Regions from separate parts of the Homo sapiens genome. Here region 2 is linked to region 1. Evidence: promoter capture Hi-C in 16 types of primary human blood cells and fetal thymus (Javierre and others, 2016). All regions are on one chromosome and are shown on one strand. Each heading gives the region's core, a stretch centred on a gene start or on the middle of the fragment in contact. The rest is flanking DNA. Distances are from core to core; before and after follow the strand shown.

Region 1 (6,184 bases), core at 1,068-3,567:
GTGAAAAATAGGGTTCCATGTAAGTTTTGATTTTGCTGTGTGTGTATGTGCGTGTGTACACATGCATGCAGTCATACATTATGGGTCACAATGTAAATCGTGTGGACTCCTTATTTTAAAAAATCTAAAGCCTTCAATCAAGAGCCTCTGAATAGCCTGTGCAAAGTTAGGCATGAGACTGTGCTTCAGTAACACAGAACCATGTATTTTATAATGTGCTCACTGATCATTTGCTGACTTATTTATTTATTCATTTATTCATTTAGATACATTCTCTCATTGCCTCAACAAGTATTTAGAGTGCCCATCATTTTCTAAATGTTCTTCTAAGCACATGGATTTTTTGTGTGTATAAGGGTTTTGTTTTTTGTTTTTTTGCTTTTATTTTAAGTTCAGGGATACATGTACAGGCTTGTTACATAGGTAAATTTGCATCATGGGGGTTTGTTATACAGATTATTTCATCACTCAGGTATTAGCCTGGGACCCATTAGTTATTTTTTTTCTGATCCTCTCCCTCCTCCTATCCTCCACCCTTCGATAGGCACCAATGTCTGTTGCCCTCTAAGCATATGAATTTTAAATGATGAGAATAATACCATCTTCTATTATTTGAATAAAATCACCATTTTCCCAATTAATGGAGATTGTTGTAACACCTGGACTGTGGCTAAATAGCGTGATAGCATGAAAATATTAAAAGCTGGGAAACTGAACTCTGATTACTCAATGGGAAAATGTTTGCCCTTGAACTTTTATATAACACATATTCTATTACTACAACCTAAACAGACCGTAGAACAGAGCTAGAAACTTACCTTGCTCTTCAAGGAAGATGACACACTTTCAGTTGGTATCTTCAAATTGCAAGTCCTACTCAAAGAAGAAAGAAAAGCTCCTATTTAAGAAGTTATTATTTAATGTCTAGTCACAAATATTGAAGTTCTCTAGAGGGAGGGAGATTTAAGGAAAAAGTAATGACTAGGTGGAGATTAGAAAATATTCTCCAACTTGTCACACAGGGCTGCTGCTGTGAGGAAAAATAGAAGTCTCTGAATGCACTCTGTAAAGTCCTAAAGAGCTGTAAGAAGGGATCATCGTATCTGCAATGAACATCATTTTTAGCTGGGGGTCTTATCCCTGGCCATTGTTGCAGACTCAGAGTAATATACCAGTGTGAAATAAGGCCACTTAGTACAATGGACAACCTTTTACACTGAGATCAATAAATGATCACCAAAAGGTGACACACAGGGTGGAACCTCTAACATGATGTTAAATAGAGTCATGTTGGGATGTTAGAGACCAATGACTGGGAACTAACAATAATTGAGGAATTTGAACGTACATAAAGTTCTCAGGGGACAAGTTACCCATGAGAATAACCACAGTCTCTCACTCCAATCATCTAGAGAAGCAATAATTAAACTGCATATGAAAGCCTGGTTCCATTTTCTTAGGAAGAACACCAGTGTATTTACTTTACTCAGGGTTATTTCTTCTTGGTAATGTGAACATCTTCAGAAAAGATTCATCATTAACTTTCCTGGCAGAAATCAGACAGAATCATGAGTGGCATAATGGAAACTAGGCTAAAGTGTTATGTAAGTTTCGTTGGCCGATGGCAGCATAACTTCACAAAGTTCATATTGAGATTATAGGTTGTATAAACACTTACGCACTTCAGTTCTCTCATTAATAAAACAGAGATGAGTATTTTTTTTCTGAGATAGCAGAATGGATGCTTTGCCAGAATCCTTGCTCACTTGGAAATAGCAAGTGGTGTGTAGAGATTCACACTGTGAATTTGCATCCAAGTAGAAACATGATTGTTCAATATAAAAGTGAAAGAAAACTTTGTATACTGCTGAAAACAAGACAGACAGCAGCCCAAATGGAAAACTGTGAATCAGTCCCTCCATATGTGAGAGGGGGAGTGCTCCACAATACACATACCCACCAGGAAGCCAGGCAACCTAGGCTATCGGGAACTTTTTGAGTTTCCCAAAACCTGGATCAGACTTGGGGAACAGTCAAGGGACTGTGAGAAGGAAGAGCACTGGGAAGTACCCCACATGCACTCTCAGACTTAAGGACCAATGGAAGGAGGTCATTCCTGATGCTAACTCATAGTGGGTTGCACAGGAACCTGCCAGCTAGCATTGGTGTCAGTCACTGGTTTGTAGAGTTGTTAGCCAGAGATTTGTGATCTTACCTTGATTGGAGGAGGAATCCACATGGCCAGAATGGAGAGGCAAGAATAGCATGGGCTTCAGCTGTGGACAATGGAATTGGGAATCCACCTTGCAGGACAAGACCAGGAGGGTTTGAGTCTGAGAGGAGTGGTTTTGACCACGGTAGCAAGTTTTGCAGCCTGAGGCATTTTCACACTCTAAAGGCAAAGTGCATTTGAGTTGGCTAACTGTCCCAACGCACTGCTAGTGTCCAGCTGTGGGAAAGAGCCCTGCTGGGTTTAATGAGAGCAAACTGGGTCTTACTACCCCTTGATAGGCCATGGAGCCTAGGATGTACTCTTTCCCTCATGGGGTCATTGGCATAGCAGCAGTTGCTCTGCTTATTGCTGGAGCGTTTCTTCAGAGGTCTGAGGATTGCTCTCTGAACCTTGTAAGGGCCAGCACTTGTACATGCCATCGTGGGGTTCAAGTGCAGACTTGCACAACCCAACACTGCCCAGCTTTGCCCTCTTGCCTTGGATACAAAGCATGGAACCAGGACCACTGTGTGTTCCATAGCCCAAATCATTATCTGGGACACCCAAACCAGTACACTAAGGATATTTACAAACAAGAAAATCATACAGAGTCTACACCAGTTTAGACAGCCAGAAACAAAGCCAAATAACCCTACTCAGCATACATTATAGTCACATTCCCAAGAAAAATAAGTCACACCCCAATGAAAGTAAATTCAATAATAGAAGTGACTAATTCTCCAGATGCAAAGAAATCAGGATAATAATACTGGAAGTATGAAAAACAAAGTGCTATAACACCTCCAAAGGAGCACAGTAATTCTCTAGCAATGGATTTGAACCAATAAGAAATCTTCAAAATGTCAGATAAAGAATTCAAAATACTGATTTTAAAGAAGTTCTATAAGACATAAGAGAAAACTGAATACCAATGCAAAGACATCAGAAAATCAATTCCTGATATGAGCTAGAAATTTACCAAGAAGGTAGAGATCTTAAAGAAACAAACAACTTCTGGAAATGAAAATTTCACTGAAAGAATTATGAAGAACAGTTGAAAGCCTTAAGAATAGACTAGAACGAGCAGAGAAGAGAATCTCAAAATTTGAAGACAGGTCTTTTGAATTAATTCAATCAGACAAAAATAAAGAAAGGAGAATAAAGAAGAACAAACAAAGCCTTTAAGAAGTATGGGACTACATAAAGCAACCAAACATATGAAGTATAAGTATTTCCAAGGGAGAAGAAAAAGCAAAAAGTTCAGAAACCCTATTTAAGGAAATAATTGACAACAAGTTTCCCGAGTTTGGGAAGAGATTTACACATCCAGATACAATAAGCCCAACAAACTACAGGAAAATACATTGTAAAAAGGACCTCAACATGACATATAGTCATCAGATTGTCTAAAGTCAACATGAAAGAAAAATCCTAAAATCAGCATGAGAAAAGTGTCTAGTCATCTATAAAGAAAACACCATTAGAATAATAGTGGACTTTAAAAGCAGAAACCTTACAAGCCAGAAAAAATAGAGATTCTATTTTTAAAGTACTTAAAGGAAAAAAAAAACCCTGTCAACCACCAATTTTATATCCTATTCAGAATAAGCTTCATAAATGGAGGAGAAATAAAGTTCTTCTCAGACAATCAAATGCTGAGGGAATTCATTACCACTAGACTGGCCCTATAAGAAATTCTGCAGGAGTTCTAAATGTGGATACAAAATGTCAATATTCACCATCATATAAACACAAAATTACAAAAAGTAAAAAAAGGAAATCCAATGACTACATGACAAAACTCCACTAAAGCACAAAGACAAAGGAAAAAAAGAAATGAAGAATCTACAAAACAGCTAGATTACAATCTACATTATGTCAGAAACAAAAGCTCACATGACAATATTAACCTTAACAATAAATGAATTAAAATTTTCCACTTAAAAGATATACATTGATGACATGGATAAAAACATGAAGCAACTACATGCTACTTAAAAGAAACTCACCTTACTGGTTGGTAGACAGTTATAGACTGAAGGTAAACAGGTGGAAAAGATATTCCACACAGATGAAAACCAAAAGTGGGTAGTAGTAGTTACACTTATATCAGGTAAAACAGACTTAAAATAAACCATGATAAAAAATACAAATAAGGCCATTATATAATGATAAAGAGATCAAATCAGCAAGAACATATAAAAATTCTGAATATATGTGCACCTAAAAATGGAACAGCACCCAGAGTCATAAAAAAATTACTAGACATAAAGAAAGAAACATACAGAAATGCAATAAAAATGGGGGACTTACCCCACTGATAGCACTAGACAGGTTATCAAAACATAAAATTAACAAAGAAACATTGGACTTAAATTTTTGACCAAATGGACATCACAAACATTTACAGATCAGTGTAACTAACAAAAGTAAAATGTAGTTTTTTCATGGGCACATGGTACATTCTCCAAGATATGTCACAAAACAAGTCTCAATATAGTATTCAACTTTTTAAAAGTTGAAATTATACCAAGTGTCTTCTCAGAGCATAGCCAAATACAACTAGAAATCAATACCAAGAGGAACTCTGGAAACTATACAAATACATGGAAAGTAAACAATATATTCCTAAACAATATTTAGGTTTGTTACTAAATTAAGTCATAAATTAAAAATTTTTGGAATAAATAAAAATGGAAACACAAAACATACCAAAACATATTGAAAACAGCAAAAGCAGTGATAAGAGAGAAGTTTATAGTATTAAATGCCTACATCAAAAAATAGAAAGATCACAAATTAGCAACATAACATTGTACCTCATGGAACTAGTAAAACAAGAACAAACAAAATCCAAAGCTACCAGAATAAAACAAATAACAGAGATCAGGGTAGAACTAAATGAAATCAGGTCAAAAACAAATAAAATAGACAAACCACTAGCTAAACTACCTAAGAAAAACAGGAGAAGAGATCCAAATAAACATAATCCAAAATAAAAAAGAATACATTACAGCTAAAACCACAGCTAATACCACAGATCATCAGAGGCTGCCATGAACAACTTTGCACTCACAAACTAGAAACGTAGAGAACATGAATAAATTCCTGGAAACAAATAACCTCCTAAGATTGAATGGGAGAGAAAAATCTTGAACAGAGCAATAATGAGTGATTAAATCAGTAATATAAAACTTCCCAACAACACCAACAAAAAAGCTCAGGACCAGATAAATTCACAACCGAATTCCACCAAAGGTAAAAAGAAATAATAGCAATCTTTTGAAACTCTTCTGAGAAATCAGAGAGGAGAGAATCTTCCCTAACTCATTCTACAAAGCTAGTATGAGTCTGATACCAAAGCTGGCAAGGATATAAAAATGGAAGACTACAGACCAATCCCTGATAAACATAGATGCAAAAATCCTCAAAAGTATACATCATTTGCTAGCATTTTGTTAAGGATTTTGTATGTAAGGATTTTGCACATATATTGAGATATATGTATAACAGCATATCAAGAAGATAATATACCACAATCGAGTAGGTTTTATTCAGGGATGCAAGGATGGTTCAACATACACAAATCAATAGATGTGATTAATTACATAAGCAGAATTTAAAAACAAAAACCCTATGATCCTATAAATAAATCCAGAAAAGGCATTTGATAAAATTCAGCATCCTTTTATGATAAAAACTTTCAAAAAATCAGACATAGAAGGAACATACCTCGAAATAATAAAAGCTATACATGAAAAACACATAGCCAACAGCATACTGAATGGAGAAAACTTGAACTCATTCTCCCTAAGAATTGGAACAAAACAAGGATGACCATTTTCATCACTCCAATTCAACATAACCCTGGAAGTCATAGCCAGAGCAATCATGCAAGAATAAATATTAAATGCATTCAAACTAGAAAAGAGAAAGTCAAATTATCTCTGTTTGCTGATGATATGATTTGTA
Region 2 (5,766 bases), core at 3,149-5,648, 300 kb before region 1:
AATCTTTCAAACATCAAGTCAAATAAATGCTCCTTTCTTTTGATCTAACAAATTGGTTAAAATAATTATGTTTAGTTTGCTTTATATTTGAGTCATGGAAATTTTGCATTTCCTAAGATTTCCTGTTGCCATATGGTACAGATTTGAGTCACCTCGTAATACTGCATAATACCATGTTCCAAGTCCATCCAGGATACTCATTAAAATGCCTAAAGCCTTCCTTGGGAGAGTGTGCATGGAAGCCTAGGTTCCCATCTCTTTTTTTTCCCAAAGTCATCTCTACTCTCCCAGGACCTGCCAGAAACCTGGCAACAATCCTACTGGACAGGTGACATTAGTTTGTTTGTGTTTGAGAAGTGGAGATTGGAGAAATGAAACCATCCGTTGACCCACATGTAGAGGAGCCAGGATCCACAACCAAGTCTCCAGATTCCATTATCCTACACTGCTCCCCTTGAACCATTTGCCTGGCCTCCTTAATCTTACACCCCCAACTTCCTCAGGTTGGAATCTGCCAATTCAGAGTCCTTGAATCTAGAACTATGTTTGATGAAGCCATGAATATAGAAATTAGATTGTTAAGAAACTCTTTTCCTTGTAGCACAACTGGGAATTTTCTTTGCTGTGGCAACATGGGGATTGCTATTTTTGATAAAATCCATAGTAGTAAAAACTCATCATAATACCTCTTTCTACCTTCTTTCATACATTTTATATCCATAAATGTCTGTGATTGCCTCCACACCCCTGTAAAGTTGACTTGATTGATATTGTCATTATTTTGGCATTGAGACAACTGACAGAGGTTAATGACTTGTCCAAAAGTCAAATAATTAGCTATTTGCAGACTTGGGGATAACAGGCAGGTCCTCTGGCTTCCATGGGATCCCTTTTTTTACTTCTCTTTCACCTAAGGTCTAATTCCACTGGGACCTGCCAGGAAGAGGTTTTGAACTTGTGATGAGGCCCCATCTCTAGAATCATTGTGACTGCTTTATTCACTACATGGGTAGAGAGAGACAAGCAGCACACACTTTCATGAAAGGGCTCATGGTAGCTGTTCTTGGGTCTGGAGCTTACTTCAGCTCTAATCAGGGTCCTAGTGGGAGAGAGACATTGACAGATCACGTCAAACATGTCCCAGGGCTATTCCATCCACCTTGCTCCAGCAGCAGGGTCTGGGGACGAGTCAGCTTCTTTGGAAGGCCTTCATGGTATGGTTCAAGCTCTGTGGTTGTCACCTCTATGACAGGCACTCACTAGCTGAGTAAACTTCAAACGTTTATTTTCCCTTCAACATGGACTTCGCTTTCTATTCTATGAAATGGCAGAGCTAGGTTATATGACCACTGAATCTTTTGTTTCTCACAATCCATGATTTATATGTCTAGGTATTTAGGCTCTGTATCTACTAAATACTGAGTATATAAAGCAATGCAGGCACTATTTCAAGTGATTTATAGTTACTTAAACATAATATTTTGGGGCCTTAGGTAGAAAATTGAATGGCCTTTACTCCTCAGTTCCTGATAAACCATCATCATTGGTCAGGGCAAGGCTCTTCTTCATTTTATTTTATTTTATTATTTTTGTTAGTCCTGCCTCATTCTTACTCCTTCCCCTGTTCCTCTTAAGTGTGCACTCCAGTGTATTCAAAATACATATCCTTCTATGTTTATTCTTTTCATATTTATTTAGAAATATATGTATATTAAAATATAGTGGCTGTGGTGTGTTTTAAAATTTGTGTACATGATATTGTGACATAAATCTCATTTTTTAGCATACACCGTATTTTTGTGATTTGTTTATGTAATTGTGGTAAATTTTGTTTTTTTTTTCGGATTTTGTTATGGTCTTGCTTGGTATGCTTATAACATATTTTACTTATCAATTCTACTAGAGACTGTGAGTGCTTTGCATATATTATTTAATTCTGAAAGCAGCCCTTTAAGCAGATATTATGACCTTATTTTTACCAATGAGGAATTTAAATCTTTGGGAGATTAATTTGTCTAAAATTACCTCCAAGTGAAAGTAGAAGCAGAAGAGTTAGTTGATGGCAAATCCTCTGCTTTCAGCTATAAATTTGTTTTGTTGTCTCCCTCCATTTTCCTATATCTTTATAATCTATGGAAACAAAGAAATCTCCCTGCAGTTAATCAGAGCTTTTTTACCTTCAAATCATGAGATAACTTGGTTAATTTCAACACCTTTCTCAGTATCTACTTCTGAAATTGTTGTAGGTCATATTACATCTATCTCATGGCTAATTCCTGGGGGTCTCTCTGATTAGAGACACAATTGTTCAAGGCTCCTGACCAGAGATTAGGTGGCAGATTGTTGGGGTGCAGATGCAATCACACTGAGTTTGTGGCACATGCATGCAAGGCCTGTTTCATACATTAGCTCTAGTCCTTCCTGAAGCCCTCCAAGTTGGGTATAGCTATGACTATTTTATGGATGAACAAAGCAGAGTTCAGAGAAGTTAAGAAGGTTGTCCAACTTATTATACACCTAGGAAGGAACAGAACAGACATTTGAACCTAGGACATTCTAATTCCAAATTCTGTATTCTTTCCATCTTATCATGTTCTCTTTTTAGGGCATGAGAAAGACCCTTTATGCAGATCCAAGCCCCAAACCTTTAAAATCAAAGCGCCTCTCTAAAACCATTAGGCAAATACTCAACTTCTGTGGGCATCAAGTATAAAGATTGATGTTGGAGTTCTTTGTGGTCCATGTTTTTTCTTCTTTTTCTTTCTTTATAACTTGAGAGAGACTTAGTTGGACCATATCCCTCTTGATATACCCTTGGAAAACTGCTCAACCAATTGGAACCTCAATTTTTTCAATAATAAAATGAGAATATAGTAACGATTCTTGAAATAGAATGGATGTTTATCTAATATGGTAGAGCTTGCTTATTTTTCAGACAGGCAATTTCCAAAATATTTCCCAGAGGGAAAAATTTTAGGAGCAGACTGGTGACACCCAGTTTTGTGTGATCTTGTTTAAGAAGGAGATTGGGGTACCATCAGCTTGGGTGAGGCCAAGAGTAGAGAGAAACAACCAACTCCCCGAACCCAGGACAGTTTATGAAAGGGAAAGCAACGGTTTATGGCCAGTGACTCTTTTAAGAAAGCCTAGGAACATTTATAGGTTGATATTATTACTTGTGATATATTTAAATTATAATATGTGACATAAAAGAATATGTGACCTCTGGAGGGGATAGGGAAAAAGACTCCTCTAATTCAGGAGGAACCCTTTACAGAAGAGATGGTCCCTAACACTTGTACTTACTTTAACTTGGGATGTTCTCCATACTCTTCTTCATTTTCCTCCAAAGATTGAGTCCCTTGGGGAGGGTGAAGGAGCTCAACAAAGTTAATGTTTCTCACCTTACTGAAATCAGTGTCTTGAAATATTGTTGTTAACATTTGCTGAGCTCTTGCTCCAAGTCAGGTAGATGCTAAGCACTTTAAAGGCTTTTATTTCCTTTCAACTTGACAATAACATAATGAGAGAGAAATATTTTATTTTACAGATGAGGAAATGAAGGTTTAGAGACATTAGATGTTTTGCTTGAGGTTTCACAGCTAGAAAGAAAATATGTTTAAATTCTAACCCTGGTTCTCTGACCCCAGAGTTGGAGTGTTGAATCAACACGCTGTGCTGCTTTTCCTAATCCTGGCAACCATTTATCGAACATCTTCTCTGCGCTGATCACAATACTATGCATTGTAGACACATTAGTTCATATAATTCATACAATGATCCTACAAAAAAGGTATTATTTTGTCCTGGAAGAGACTAGGACTCGGAATAGTTAAGTACCTTGTCCAAGGTCACATGACTAGTCAATGAAAAAGCCTGGAGTCTAATCCAGGTCTGTCTTATTCCAAAGCCAGAGTCCTAGTACATATGACTAATTCTACTCCAGCATAATTACAGAAAGTAGAGTCATTTACAGGAAAATATCTTGTCTAAGCTCTGCAGTCTAGTACCACGCCTCCCACATGAAACTATTTATATTTTCTGAAATCTACTTAGTGACACAAAAGCCCAAAGAGATTAAAGCTGTAGATTCCCCCCTTACCCACCGCCCCCCCCCCAAAAAAAAGCTGATCCAGTCTTACTTGTATATTTCACATAAGAGCTGAAATCCCAGTCTGGTCATGGTCCTATCAGATGACAACTTCTGATGACAAAGGCAAGATTCTCTGCCCAGTTACACCTTCTCTAGTTTGTGTGGACCTTACTTCAGAGCCAAGGTAATAATTAAGTCTTAATTACCTGGTGGAATAATTCAGTTGGATTTATCTTGGCCTTGTAGTCAAGCTAAGCTAAGGTTGTTTAAGCATTTTGTAGAAAGCAGCTAAGATTGCTCAAATAGACGTATGTAGCTGACTGACTTTAGGTTTTCTTCTTACTAAGCAAACCAGTGGGATATTTAAATTGCCTTTGGGGATAGTTTTATGGGAGGGATGCAGTGATCTCAGTGGTTTTCCTTGAATCATGAATCAGGACCTGGGACAGCCCCTGGGACTCCAGAGAATAGCCGGCCCGGTCAGGGAGACCACACTTCAGCAGAGGCTCATTATCTCAGCTTCTGCACACTTCTGAGAGAATAAAAACAAATCTTATGGGAGCTCATGAAAACTCGTAAGCCTTGTTTGTCTCAAAGCTCAACTGCAGACTCTGCTGGGAATGAACTTGGTTTTTCTTTGCCACTGGCTCACCATTCCCAAAGTTACTCAGTGGTAATATCAGGACTGGAACTCAGATCTTAGGACTCCTGGTAAAGTTCTCTTTACAACACACTCATCCTTAGTCCTGATGTCAAGTCCCATATCAGGGGCTGAAACCTGGCTGCATTGTCTGCTCAGAATTTCAAGGAAGAGTGATTATTGGCTCAGGAAGGTATGAGTCTGGTGTGGTCTAAACATACTTCATTCATGTCTATACTGAGGAGCTTGTCAGCTCACCTTCCTTAAAGATCTATTTCCAGGGTTTCCATGGTCAACTCTCTAACCACTCCAGCTCTTGTCTCTTCCCTCGTCTCTGAAACCCATGATCTCTTTGTTAGAACCACATAATTTGGCACTGAACTCCACTTGTCTTACAGTGTTCATAGTTATTCTTTAGTGAATAGTCTCATCTCCTCTGCTGGATTGTGGGTTCCTGGAGAACCTATCTTTCTTCCTACTAATAACTTGGTTCCTGATTCAGTAGAACCTCTCTGTGTCCTATAAGCTTTCATCAGCTTTTTATTGTAGGATCAGAACTTTTCCAGCAGAAGAAATCTCAAAGAGGCCATGTGCTCTGTTTGCTTCTAAGTAACATGGCTGGGATAAAAAACCTTTGAAAATTAGCAAGCATTCAGGCGAACTAGGGTGGTTTTCATAATTGCAGATGCCAGATGCCAGTTGATACAAGAATATATTACAAAGAAGGGTGGCAGCCACAGATCAGGACTCCTGGCAGTTAGCACAAGAAATTCTACCTTCCAATACATTTTTGGACAATATTTATTATTTCCTATAATTAAATATCTATTGAAATAACTGTGTGGTAAGAGTATATGTAGTGTATTCTAATACTTCCTGGAATGGTATAGAAGGTAGAGTGGTAATTGGGACAGGGTGAAGGAATATGCCAGTAATAAGAATATTCCATTCAACATCCCCTGGGGAACTTGTAGAATGGGGTGACTATACAGTAGATATTACCTTCCTTCCTTTTGACACATTGGGGGATCTA

What was found. Contacts are between HindIII fragments. The CHiCAGO score rates a contact against its expected background, and 5 or more counts as called.
Region 2: the fragment with the promoter of OR9I1 here is called in contact with the fragment with the promoter of OR5B2 in region 1 in 11 of 17 cell types (M0 macrophages, naive CD8 T cells, M1 macrophages and 8 more); the score reaches 7.1 in M0 macrophages.

The regions. Positions count from the first base shown.
Region 1 is chr11:58,425,804-58,431,987 of GRCh38, forward strand. OR5B2 (olfactory receptor family 5 subfamily B member 2) reads right to left here and starts at 2,318. Exons shown (of 3, transcript NM_001005566.3): 1 at 2,216-2,318; 2 at 819-873. The HindIII fragment of the contact is 6,968 bases long and covers 1-3,819 here.
Region 2 is chr11:58,121,132-58,126,897 of GRCh38, forward strand. OR9I1 (olfactory receptor family 9 subfamily I member 1) reads right to left here and starts at 4,399. Exons shown (of 3, transcript NM_001005211.2): 1 at 4,143-4,399; 2 at 3,307-3,508. All of the region lies in intron 2 of OR9Q1 (olfactory receptor family 9 subfamily Q member 1), which reads left to right. The HindIII fragment of the contact is 7,504 bases long and covers 1-5,257 here.